2 separate regions of the Homo sapiens genome follow, and region 2 is linked to region 1. The links are contacts of gene promoters, found by promoter capture Hi-C in human tissues and cell types (Jung and others, 2019). All regions are on one chromosome and are shown on one strand. Each heading gives the region's core, a stretch centred on a gene start or on the middle of the fragment in contact. The rest is flanking DNA. Distances are from core to core; before and after follow the strand shown.

Evidence for each region. Contacts are between HindIII fragments. The study calls those that stand out against the background at their distance.
Region 2: a contact is called between a fragment that was not itself captured here and the fragment with the promoter of NGEF in region 1, in 4 of the 25 tissues and cell types used here (adrenal gland, lymphoblastoid cells, pancreas and 1 more).

What each region holds. Positions count from the first base shown.
Region 1 is chr2:233,011,037-233,014,752 of GRCh38, forward strand. NGEF (neuronal guanine nucleotide exchange factor) reads right to left here and starts at 2,220. Exons shown (of 15, transcript NM_019850.3): 1 at 2,032-2,220. LOC101928881 (a long non-coding RNA gene) reads left to right here and starts at 1,578. Exons shown (of 3, transcript NR_136325.1): 1 at 1,578-1,933; 2 at 2,104-2,211. The HindIII fragment of the contact is 2,443 bases long and covers 1,573-3,716 here.
Region 2 is chr2:232,786,622-232,790,253 of GRCh38, forward strand. It overlaps GIGYF2 (GRB10 interacting GYF protein 2), which reads left to right. Exons shown (of 29, transcript NM_001103146.3): 9 at 529-708. Among named protein-coding and RNA genes, the nearest start is that of KCNJ13, 12 kb to the left of the region's middle. The HindIII fragment of the contact is 4,915 bases long and covers 1-3,632 here.

The DNA of each region.
Region 1 (3,716 bases), core at 970-3,469:
CCGCTGGGCCACGGTGCCTCTCAGCCTCAGGATCCTATCACCGTTGTTGGGGTGAGAGGGCTGGTGTGCTCTTTTCACCAAGCGGGGTTTCTGGCCTGGCCTCGGGGGTGTGGGACACAGCATCGCTTCATCTCCACTAGCCTGAGGGCCACCATTGTCCCATCTGTGTCCCCAGCCCCACTTCAAAGCCTCACACATACACTGTGCACAGCAATTATCTATGAAGGAGTAAAGGAATTTTTGCCATTGGGGTTGTGCTGGGGGGTGACTTCAGAGCATCAGAGCTGACTCCTTACTCGGGAAGCAATGGGCCCATGTAGATGGGGAAGGGACGTCATCTTGGGAGACGGGATGTCCGACTTGGTGCTGGTGGCTCACCAGCTTCTTGGGACAAACAGCAGCTCCTGCGCCCCTGGTAGAGCCAGCAGGCTTGGGTGGTTAGGTTTGGTCTCCTCTGAGAGGCTCTGGGTGGCCCCACAACATCTGGGCTATTTTGTTACTGGTACAAGCTTCCGGTCTCCCACAGGCCAAGGGAAGTTCTTAAAGCAATGAAAAAAAAAAAAAAAAAGGAACAGAGACAGAGTCTTGCCAGGTTGCCCAGGTTGGAATGCAGTGATATGATCATAGCCCACCGCATGACTTCTGGGCTCAAGCAGCCCTCCTGCCTCTGCCTCCTGAGTGGCTGAGACTACAGGCATGCATCAGCTCTTCTTAAAGCAATTCATCTTCCCCCATGTCTAGCCTCATCTGTGTCCCCAGCCCCACTGGGGCAGAAAGCTGTGGAATGTTACTCACACTGTCATTGGATCAACCCCTGGCTTTCCTGTGGGGATCCCCTCCCTGGGAGGGGTTCCCATGACAATTTGGGCTCCAGAAAGGGATGTGGGAGGAGAGTGCGGTGGAGGGAGGTGGTCTGTGGTCTCCCTTCATGGACCAGAAAGCTTGACCCCCAAGGGGACCCTGGCTTCTACTTCCTCAGAGCTAAGCAGTGCCAAGGGGCAGCCTGAGACATGGGCAAAGGGGAAGCCTAAATGGAAAAAGAGAGAGAGAGAGAGAGAAAGAGAGAAGGGGCAGGGAGGACAAAGACACATGGCAAGTGTCCAAGCTGGAACATTCCCACCAGTGGCCTTATTGCATTAAGGATTTTCCCAAAAAGCAGAAATACACTGATAGTCAATGGAACATAGCAGAGCTGTCACGAGCCCAGGAAACACAAGTCCCACCTCTACACAGCCAGAGACTGTGTGACTGTCCCAAATTTTAAATCAAGATAGACAATAAGAACCTACCACTTTCACATCCAAGAAAACTGTGTCCCTACACATTTCAGTCACACCGTGCTGTGGCTTGAGGCCAGCCAGATGCAAAAATCAGGAAGGTTCTGAGGGGTAGGGCCTTCTGTCTTTCTGAAAGGGGCCCCTGAGCGGAGGGGGCAGTGCTGGGGGAGCTAAAGCGCAGTGGGCTGTCACTTCACGACTATGACTTCTGTTTCCCAAGTGCACTTCCTGACCCTGAGATTTGTGCCATGGCACACAGGAATCAGGGCACTTCCGTTTACATATACGCTCATTATCAGGACTGGCGTCGTGGGTGTGGGGCCTGGGCAGTCACAGGGCCCTGTTCTTAGAAGGTGCCCCGGCTTGCTTTAATGCTGTGTTGTTGTCCTTTTGAAAGCCTTACTATTTTAACAAGGGGCCCTGCATTTTTATATTGCACAGGGCCCTGCAATTATGCAGCCATTCCTGCTTTTGATCTCACTTACCCCACAGCCATAATGGAAGAGCGCCTGGAAGGAGTCCTTATCCTGATTCCCAGATGGTGAAACTGAGTGCCAGGAGGGGCAGTGCTGAAGCCGAGACCAGACAGGATCCCTCGGGTGGAATCCAGGGCTGCTGTTTCTCTTGGGGGCTCCTCCTCAGTGAATGGATGGGTGGTAATCTCCTTTCCTACCTGTCCTAGCGGTAGCCTCTGTTCCTTCTCTTGTTTTATCTCATTTTATTTTTTTAAAAAATACCAAAACCATTCTCTCACCTGCCAGAGAGGAGCTCATAGGAGTTGGGCTTCCTCAGAGAGTGTTCCTCCCTCGTCCCCTGTCCTGTCCAGGCACCTGCGAGCAGGATGGTGTGTCCCCGGCTAAATCCACAGGCGCTCCACTCTGTCCCAGAGAGCCCACAGCCAAAAACTTCGTCCTGTCCTGGAAAAGCTTCACTGGTAAGCATTCCCGACCTTTAGACCTGCCTTGGCCCATAGCTGGCCACGAGCCCATAACGATCACTTCCCGGCTGGGTGTTTACCTTCCTGGGCCCCATGGGTTGAGCCAGGGTGGCAGCCACATACCTGACACAAAAGTGGTGCAGGAGGGAAGGGCTATCTGAGGGGAAGGCTGGGCATGGCTGGAATACCCGCCGCCCGCCCAGTGCAAGATAATGCTGATGGTCACACCAAGAGGGGCCCGTGGCTCAGCTGGCCCACCAACCCCAAGCATTGGCCAAGCCAGCTGCACGGCCCTCAAATCTGAGATTTGGGAGAGGCTTTGGGGTCCTCCAGGGTTCTAGTCACTTCCTGCCATGGCCATCTGGCCTTAACTCAATCACTTCCAGGCATGGAACACTCACTGCTTTGTAAGGCATCTTGCTCCATTATTATTATTATTATTATTATTATTATTATTATTATTATTCCCTCTAATAGCTTCCTTTAATCCAGTGCTTACTACATGACAGGCACTGGGCTAAGTACATTACATAATCTATGTAATCCTTGTGTTGTCACTATGACCAGAGAATCATGCCCATTTTAAAGATGCAGAAACAGAGGCTCAAGAAATTGATCATCTTGCTCAAAGCCCCACAGCTAGTAAGTTGGGGATCCAGGATTCAAACCCAAGCCAACTAGTATCAAAACCACTACCATCATTTGCCAAGTTTAATTGCTACATCATCCATCTTTATATAAAACTCAAATCAGCGTTTGTTTTAGCTATCTGTTCTGGAAACAAATTAACTCAAAGTGTGTGGCTTGAAATAACACTCATTTGTCATCTCAGTTTCTGTGGCTAGAAGTCTGGGCACTGCTTGGCTGGGTTCTCTGCTCAGGGTTTCTCATAAGTTGCCATCCAAGTGTTGGAGGGGCTGAGGTCTCATCTCATGGCTCCACTAGGGGGGATCCACTTCCAAGCTGCTGGTGTTGGCAGGATTCAGTTTCTTAGGGCTGTAGGATGAAGGCCTCAGCCCCTCTCAGCTGTCAGCTGTGGCCACTATCAGTCCTTTGCCATGTGGGCCTCTCCGCCCTGGCAGCTCGTTGCATCAGAGAGGGCTATGGAGAGAGTCTGGGAAGAGGTAGGTCAGTCTTTTGTAATATACTCAAGGATGTGATATTCCATCACTTCTGGCATATTCTACTCGTTAGAAGGAAGTCATCAGGCACAGCCTACACTCAAAGGTAGGGGATTACACAGGGCACAATACCAGGGGTGGGGGTCCCTGAGGGCCATCTTTGAAAGTTCCCACAGCCATCTGATTGCCACAAAACATGGGTTTCAGTTTTGTCCCTGAAAGCCAGATTGAAGTAGTCTCTCATCTATTCTCTCACCCATCCATCCACCCATCCACCCATCCATCCACCCATCCACCCATCCATCCGTCCATCCATCCATCCACCATCCATCCACCCATCCATCCATCATCCACCCATCCACCCATCCATCCACCCATCCA
Region 2 (3,632 bases), core at 850-3,349, 220 kb before region 1:
GGTTATATAAAGTATGTTGTATGATGAAAAATATCTTATAACTTTAAAAAGTATGTGCTAGTAAGGAAGGATTGGCAAGATACACTGTTAGTGAAAACAGCAAACAAAACAACATTTATAACATCCTGAGGGTGGCGTTTGTGTGTGTGGATGAGGGAGCTATGTATACATGTGTAAGTGTACCCATGGACAGTGTTTGGAAAGACTTTATAAGAAACTTGGTGATGGTTCCTTCTGGGGAGTACGACTCTGAGGGTCTTGTGTAGGAAGATGGACTTTTCATTGTACGCTTTTTCAAAAAAAATTTTACATAATATTTTTGTTTAAAAAAATTGCCCAGTCTCTGAACATGGCTTTAAGAAATGTGTCTAATAATATATACATATACCCACTGTTATTTTAGTGATTTTTTTCTGAATATTGAAATGGACCCATTTGCAGGAAAGCTTGATTTGAGCTGTGAAGTTTGTTTTCAAAGCCTATACTGGCAGAGGCTCATGTTTACTTACCATATTATTTTCTTTATAGGGAGACCAAATTTTGAGGAAGGTGGACCAACATCAGTAGGGAGAAAGCATGAATTTATACGCTCAGAAAGTGAAAATTGGCGCATCTTTAGAGAGGAACAAAATGGAGAAGATGAAGATGGAGGTTGGCGACTAGCTGGATCAAGGAGGGATGGAGAGAGGTGGCGACCTCACAGTCCTGGTAAGAATTCTGTTGAGTAAAGGCACACAGGGACTGAAATAAGGGAAAGTTTGATGGAAATAGGGATTAAATGAAAAAGATAAACTGGCTTAAAAAATGTGGGGGTGGATTCATATTATTTATGCTGTCACAGTTTTATTACTAGAAAAAATTGCAACATAAAAATTTCCTACATCTATTCAGTTGATTGAAATCACTTTTCTATTTTTCTGGGGCAAATAGTGTAGTTTAATGGGAAGCACCTGCGCTCAACTGCAGAAATGAGGGTTTCATTCAGTTTTGTCTACCTCTAAATCTCTGAATCTTTTTTAGCATTCTTTAAGATTTATAAATGTGTAAAAATTACACACTTGAAATATGTGCTTCCCTCCCCAACAATGAGTGTTTTTCCTAACAAGAAAGGGTTTATTCTTTCATTTTTTCCCTTTTGAAAATGTGATTTAACCTTATTTGAAGAATAAGCTTTAAACCTAGGTCAGAAACATAATCACAAGTTCATTCTTATGTCCTTCTAACTTTAGAAGAAGGAGAGACAATAGTAGTGATTAGTGGCTTTTAAAGTTCTTCTGTTTGTCTCTTAAAAATGCTCAAACTGTTCTTCTTGGACATTAGATATGCTAGTAATTGAAGACACTAGTGCTTTGTGTTAAAGTTCATCCTGTACCACAGTGCTGATTCCATGCCTCATGATAATCAGATGCAACTGTAGTTCCAATTGTGGGGTCATGCAAAACTGAAGCACACAGAGTATATGTGGAATGCCCTATGAATTTCATGTGTATGACAGTATTTTATCAACCATGTGCCAGAGGGGCTTACCTTTAATACAGGAAATTATGATAAGTAAACTGTTTTCACTTTTAAAAATCAAGTTATTAGCAAAACCACTAGCTTAGATCTGGGTAGACATTATAACAGGCATTCAGAGTATTTTAAGGAAGTGGTAGGTAGATAGAAACATACTGAAGTTAATGTTTGGGTAGAGTTAGGATGGTTTTATACCAACTCTTCATGGCTGCCTCTTGGGTGGGTTTTCTGTCATTAGTGGGCATTGTTTACATCACAAGGTCTAGACAATTTTCATTAGTCTGTGACCTGGGCCAGATGTTATAGTTCTCTAAAAGGCATCACTGCATTTTATGCTGAGCTTGTCCGTAGGCAGAGGGTTTGTAGACTATGTTCCCAACAAGCATTCAGTGAAGAATGGATAGGATCTGGGCTGAGAGAGAAAAGAAATTCCAGCTGGTCAAAAACAAACAAGGTGAATGTTTTGGAAGATGAACTGTGTTTTTTGAGCCCAAATGTCTGATGTTGATTCTATTAAAGGGAGTTTAACAAAGTACCTCCCACCCAACAACTTAGAATTTGGTTATATATTATCTTCTTCTCATCTTTTCTGAATCTTTCTTTCCCCCTAATATTTGACTTTCATATCATTTTTGTCATCAACTTGTGTATCTTCCAGAACTTTTAATCCATATACATATATATTTTTTCAGTCACACCTGTGGCTGAAATCCATATATTTTTAAAAGACAGTTTGGGGGATATAAAGATCCCCCAAATATAAAGTTTGGGTCTGAAAAAACAGTGTAAATGCATTTTAAAAAAGAATACGATTCACTTTTTAAACCCAGTATATTCAAAGTATAGCCTGATTATAGCAGTTTTCATATGTTAACTCTTAACGTTTGTTAGTTTATGGTTAATCTTTTATTAAGATTTGAGTAAAACTTTAAATTATTTTAACTGATTTTATGAAAATAGTATCCAACTTTAGTTTAGATGTAGGGTCTGTAAATCAGCAGTCAGCCTTAATAAGTACCTTGCATGTCTTACTTGCTATGTTTAGTTTCGTGAGTAAAATTTTATGAACTACTGATAAGATAACATTATGGGATATAAAATAGGGCTTCCGGCTGGATGTGCGTGGGGGTGGGAACATTAAGGACAGGGAGGCATCCAGTCTGGGAGCTGAACCTAGGAAAGTCAGTAAGAGGAGAAACATGAGCCAGGTACCTAGAAGGATAGATTCCTGTCATGATGTACATTTAGACTGTTAGAAATGAAAGCAGTACAGAGGGCTCTGGAATTCATTTGATCATGAAGACTCTTTTCACATAATGGCTCTAGGTTTCCACGTAAGCAGTCTGAGTATAAAATTCCTTAGTTCTCATAGGAAGTAGTAAATAGTGTTTTGTTGTTTTTATATGAAGGGATGGGAGTGTGGGACTAAGATTTCTTTTTTGTGAGTGGCTTATCAGATGCTACCTGTATTTGGCATTTTAACGTTTTGCCCTTTGTTTTCCAATTTGATTTTTAGATTGCTGGTTTTTGCAAAGTTTGTCTCAATAGTGAGAACATTTAACTCTGGCCACATTTCTTTTTCTTATCCCCCACAGAGAAAGCAGTCAAGGATGGAAAATTCTAATAGGTTAAAGCCTGCTTTTCTTTTTAAGACTCTTTTAGACTCAGGTCTGTCAGATTTTAGCAAGAGTTTCCCTTTCTTTTTTTTAGAAAAATATCTTAAGTAGGATCTCTTATTATTAGGCAATCTTTTCTTCTGTTGGGAAATGTAGATTTGGGAATGTCCGTAGGGGTATTATATGGATAGGGAGAATTAAGAGATGAGAAAGAAGGGAGAGGAGTAAGTATGTTATTGTGGAACAAGCAGCAGAGGGTGCAGAATTGGATTTTAGTTCTACTTTGCCATGTGCGAGTTACTTCTGCTGGCAAAGTTTTAGTTTCTTCTTAAACTATAAAATTAGGATAGTGAACTTCATAAAATCTCTGTGACAACTTTCAGCACTGTAATTTTGTGAATTTTTGGGGGAGGATCAGAATTACAAGTGGGAACCTGGCATTAATAAATAGTCATGATGAGTTTGATATAAGTCAACACAGGGAGCTGATTTTATCCACAA